2 separate regions of the Homo sapiens genome follow, and region 1 is linked to region 2. Evidence: promoter capture Hi-C in 16 types of primary human blood cells and fetal thymus (Javierre and others, 2016). All regions are on one chromosome and are shown on one strand. Each heading gives the region's core, a stretch centred on a gene start or on the middle of the fragment in contact. The rest is flanking DNA. Distances are from core to core; before and after follow the strand shown.

What was found. The method cuts DNA at HindIII sites, captures the fragments that hold promoters and counts their contacts. A CHiCAGO score of 5 or more calls a contact.
Region 1: a fragment that was not itself captured here is called in contact with the fragment with the promoter of TBATA in region 2 in 1 of 17 cell types (total CD8 T cells); the score reaches 5.5 in total CD8 T cells.

The regions. Positions count from the first base shown.
Region 1 is chr10:70,539,151-70,541,850 of GRCh38, forward strand. PALD1 (phosphatase domain containing paladin 1) reads left to right here. Exons shown (of 20, transcript NM_014431.3): 14 at 1-97; 15 at 430-612; 16 at 1,952-2,092; 17 at 2,313-2,384. Among named protein-coding and RNA genes, the nearest start is that of PALD1, 62 kb to the left of the region's middle. The HindIII fragment of the contact is 1,042 bases long and covers 784-1,825 here.
Region 2 is chr10:70,784,107-70,786,806 of GRCh38, forward strand. It overlaps TBATA (thymus, brain and testes associated), which reads right to left and starts at 1,271. Exons shown (of 11, transcript NM_001318241.2): 1 at 1,179-1,271; 2 at 541-667. The HindIII fragment of the contact is 8,030 bases long and covers 1-2,700 here.

The DNA.
Region 1 (2,700 bases), core at 55-2,554, 240 kb before region 2:
CTGGGTGAGCCTTCGGGAGGAGGCCGTGTTGGAGTGTGACGGGCACACCTACAGCCTGCGGTGGCCTGGGCCCCCTGTGGCTCCTGACCAGCTGGAGGTGAGGCCCCCTGCCCTCTAGGCACCCCTGCCTCCGAGGCTTCTGGGGAGTGGCCTGGGAGGGTCTTCAGAAGGCCTCACACTCCCGCAGACAGATGGAGAATCTGAGGCCCCGGGAGGAGCAGTGTCAGGGAGTGGCCAACTCAGGATTCCCACTAAAGTGCTCTGCTAACCTGCTTGGCTTTGGGGGGTGGCTGTGACCCCTGAGGCTTGGGGGGGTCAGGGATGGGACTGGAAGCCAGGGCCAGGCCTGGCCATGGCAGGCTGTGGCCTTTCAGGGCTAGCCTAGAGCCTGCCCCAGTGGCCTGTGTCCTCCCTCCTGCCCTTGCCCAGACCCTGGAGGCCCAGCTGAAGGCCCATCTAAGCGAGCCTCCCCCAGGCAAGGAGGGCCCCCTGACCTACAGGTTCCAGACCTGCCTTACCATGCAGGAGGTCTTCAGCCAGCACCGCAGGGCCTGTCCTGGCCTCACCTACCACCGCATCCCCATGCCGGACTTCTGTGCCCCCCGAGAGGAGGTGAGGGTGCTGCTCAGGCTGAGGCCTCTGGGGAGGGACAGGAGGCCTCCCTGTCTCCCCTCTGGTCTGGGCTCTGGGAGAATGAAACGACCCCAGCTTCTCTACGGGGCCCGGGAATGGTCTCACGAGGTTTTCCGATTTGGCCCAAGTGGTTTATTCACATTCCTTCCAAGCTTTGTGTGTGTGTACGTGTGTTTATTATGTGTTATAGGGTATATGTGTGTGTATTGTTATAGGTGTGTGTGTATTGGAGTGTGTATTCTGTTACGTATGTGCATATGTGTTATAAGATGTGTGTACATGTGTTTATTATGTTGTAGGGTGTATGTGTGTGTATTGTGTTATGGGTGTGTGTTATAGGTGTGTGTGTGTTATCGGGGTGTGTGTGTATTCTGTTACAGGTGTGTGTGTGTATTTGTTATAAGGTGTGTGTGTGTGTTGAGGGTGAACATGTCCAGGGTGTCCGTGGTGTGTGTGTCTCAGTTGGGGGACTGTGTATGGAGTGTGTGGGTGGTGTGTGGAATGTGTGTGTGTGTGCATGTCTTTTTATGGAGTTTGTGATGTCTCCCTTGTCTGTATTGGGGGCTGTGTGTGGAAAACCATCTTTAGGGGAGTGGTGTGGTGTGTGGTAGGGTTTGTGGAGGGGTCGTTAGGAATGTGTGTGTGTGGCATCTGTAGGTCTGTGACTGTGGGTGTCTGTATAGTGTGTGTGTTTACCGGACGTGGATCCCTGTGTGGTGCGTGTGTCTGGCGTGTGTTGTAGGTGAGCCACCGTGTGCGTGGTGCGTGTGTTGTAGGTGGGTCGCTGTGTGCTGTGTAACTGGCAATGGGGTCTGTTACCCTGCCTGAGCCCCTCCTGGCGCATCTCTTCGCGGCTCTCACTGCCTGCGGTCTGCTGCCTCCTGGTGGCCTTGTGCTGCAGGGCTCTTCTGAGGTCAGGCCCCCGTCCATGGTGGGACCAGGGCTGGGTCCAGCTCAGGTGGGTGGCAGGGCCAGCAGTCTATGTGCAGCCCAGGGGCGCAGTACACAGGGGTGACATACAGGTGCATGTCCTGCCTGATGGAGGGTGGGTACCTTGAGCCCCAGGTGCATGCTGTGTTGGCTCACACATCCTGTCCAGGTGCTTGGTGTGAGGGTGATTACGACTGCACAGGTGCAGCTGTTTACACGCACATGGTCTCATGCACCCCGGTGAGTTTTGTTTGTGTGTGCAAGCTTGGGAGCCTGACAATTTCTGGCCCGAGGACAGTGGCTGGGGCTGCCATGTGGATGGGGACCCTGTTGGGGTTTGTGCATCCAAGAGACGCCCGCTGACCCAGACCTTGCTTTTCTCGTCCAGGACTTTGACCAGCTGCTGGAGGCCCTGCGGGCCGCCCTCTCCAAGGACCCAGGCACTGGCTTCGTGTTCAGCTGCCTCAGCGGCCAGGGCCGTACCACAACTGCGATGGTGGTGGCTGTCCTGGCCTTCTGGCACATCCAAGTACGTGTGGCCTCTCAAGTGAGATTAGAGATTTGCCTGGAGGAGGGTAGACACTCAGGTCCCAGGCACACTGGCTCCACAGGAGGGTGTGAGGGGCAGAGACAGCCGGGTGTGGTCCCAGAGCCCCTTCCATCAGTCTTGGGCAGCCCCCAAGTCCTCCCCAGCAAGGGGCTCCTGGCGTTGGGAGGGGGCTTCTGTCTCAGCAGCTGTCTTCCCTCAGGGCTTCCCCGAGGTGGGTGAGGAGGAGCTCGTGAGTGTGCCTGATGCCAAGTTCACTAAGGGTGAATTTCAGGTGAGCATGCCCTGCGGGGTCCCTGAGGCACCTTGGGATGGGAGGAGGAGGAGGACTCCTGCTTGCCGGTCTAGGGGTCCTCAAAGCACGTCCCAATGCAGTCACGTCTGCCACCTCATCATATCAGTGCTTCCCTGTTCCCATTTTATAGATGAGCCCAGCAAGGCATGGGACAGCTTGGCTCTGAGGCCCTGGCAGACGGCCGGCTATGGAGATGTGGGCTGGACCCCTCCCTGCCCGGCCTTGCTGTTGGGCTGCTGTGTGCCTTGGGGAGGTCACTGGCCACCGTCTTGTCTGGGTAATGTTGATAACAACC
Region 2 (2,700 bases), core at 21-2,520:
AGATCCTTTCTAAAAATAAAAGTTTAAAAGCAAGCAAAATGATCATGAACATGCGATAAAACAGCAACAACAGCATCAAACAAGGAAATGCTAAGCACGAAATTCACATAGTGGCTATTTCCGAGGGAAGGCGGGGAGGGGAAGTGTGCAGGAGAAGCGCATATAAGGAGATGTGTTAGTGATGATGTTCTTGTTCTTGGTTTGGGTGGTGTATTTGCTTGTGTTTATTATATTATTAAATAAACTAATTAAATGGCATAGATGAAAGATGATAGGTGTCAAAACCAAGAATTATGATTAAATCTATGGACCTGAATATATATATCTAGCCAAAGTGCTAGGGATGGGGTTGGGACAGGACATCAGTGCATTCTGAGAATTAACCCTCAGAGTCACAGAATCTGCAAGGGACCCCAGAGATCTCCCAATGCCAGCCTTCATCAGGTAGTGGGATGGGTTGGAGTTGTCTGAGATCAGGGAAGCAGGGGAGATTTGCTGAGGTCACACAGAAGGAACCAGAGCCCGGGCAGTCTGACTCACAGTTTGCTGATCTTTTCTTTCCTTAAAAGGAAGCTCCAGACATCCTTGATGTCAGGTACTGGGCTCTAGAGTACTGAGATGCTACAATCTTGAGAACAGGATATGTGGAAGCCCCAAATCCTCCTGCCTATGGGAAAAAGTACTCTTTAGAACAGAGACTTGCAAATGTGTTTGGCTGTGATGACGGTAAGAAATTCTTTATGTCATGATCCAATTCACATATGGGTTTGTGTGTGTGTGTGAAACTAAAACAATAATATCCTGAAGCAATATTTATCCGTACTACATATGATGCACACTGATATTTTTACCCTATTTTTGGTTTTTATTTCTTAAATGTTAGATATGATCCATTTAAATTGATCTAATAAGCCACCAGGGGGTCATAACCCACAGCGGCTGTAGAGAGGCTGACAGGGACTCTAGTAGGCCAAGCCTGCCTTGTCCAGAGCGGGACAGGTGGGACCCCAGTGTAGTCTGCCCTGCCCTGCCCCTGCTCTCTGTCCCTGGGGCCCCAGCCAGCCAGGCAGAGGGGTCTGAGGGCTCCCATCAATCCAGCCACAAAACTTCCCTTTCTACCTCTGCCCTTCTGGGCTGTCCAGGGTCCATCTCCTCTCCCGAGAGGTCCCTGGACTCACCAAGGCAGTGCCCGCTACAGCATGTGTACGAGAAGCCCTGCTGTCCTAGCAGGAAGGAGCAAGAGGACAAATCGAGGGGAAGGCTGTGGGTTCTGTGGGCAAGTCTGCCTGCTTTGTGACACTGAGCCCAGTGGTTGCTAGGTTACCCTGTTCCCACAACTCCAGAACCTCTGCCCAGCACCCCTCTACCACATCCCCTGCCTATCTCCCCCTCCTGGAAGGGTAGACAAGGGCTAAGGACCTTCTGTCCCTCCTGACTTCCCTGCTGCCTCCCATCCAACACTTTCAATGGGGGCCAAGGGAGAGAAGGAGAGTCTGGGGCTGGTTTTAGCCAGAGAGAAGCGGATGGAGGCGGAACGCTGGCAGAGGACGTTGGTGGGCTGCGTCCCAGCTTCGTCAGCCCCACCTGGCCTGACCCCACCACACAGGGGTCGGCTTCCATGCATCTTGGTTCTGGGGACCCATTCTCAGGGAGGTGGGTCTTGGAAGGAGAGAAGATGGCAGCCCGCATTACCCAGAGGGACCCCAGCCCCTCTCTCTGCATGACAGCTGGGTGGGAAGATTCTGGGCTTGCATTTGGACAGGTGTTTTAATCAGATTTCAACATCCCATAGACACGTTACCTTGGGTAAGTCACCGGGACTGCCACAGATGCAAAATAGTGGGAAGAATCCTTGCTTCGAGTCCCTATTCTGCTACTTCCTAGTTGTGTGGCCTCAGACAATGCACCTGCCTTCTCTGAGCCTTAGTTCCCATATCTCTAAAATGGAGATGATGATACTGCACTTATTCTCACAGGATGTTTGAGAATATTAAGTGAGTTGATATATATTAAAGCGTTTCAAACAGTATCTGCCCCCAAGTATAATTTCTTACTATTATTGCCTTCTCTGGGTCTATAAAATGGGATATCCTCACCTACTTCTGTGGTTGTTCTGAAGACAAGCTAATGGAAGTGAAGCCTTTAGTTGTATGTCTGGCACACAAGAGATGCTCAAAAAGGATAATAATCATCATTATTATTGGTAACTTGATGGAGGTAGTAGGATGAGTCCTTTGTCTGAGAACTATCTTAGGTAGTTCACTATTTCTCTGAGGCTCAACTTGGACACCTGTCAAATGGGGGTAAGGATAGTTCTTAGCCGACAGGGCTGTAACTCAATCAGATCCCGGGAGGGGTGCAGACAGGCTCTGTAAACTATGGGAAGGCTTGCAGACAGTGCCGGGTGCTGTCCCTCAGAATGATGAGGTGGGCTTTTCCCAGGGCCTTTGCTCTCAGCACCCCTGGCTTCATACTGGTGCCCTGGGGCTTCCAGACTCTGTGTCTTTTCTCTGGGGAGCAAGAAAAGGAAGGTGGGTAGCTAGAGGCAAACCCAAGTCCTTCAAAAGTTCTGCCCCTCCCAGCTAAGGGGTGGGGATTCATACCACTCTGGTGGCCCCCTGAGGGCTGTCCTCTGGTCTTGGCCTACTCCAAATGCCCACCCATCCTTCGGCAGGTCAGGATGTTCCCTGGCTTTTTCTG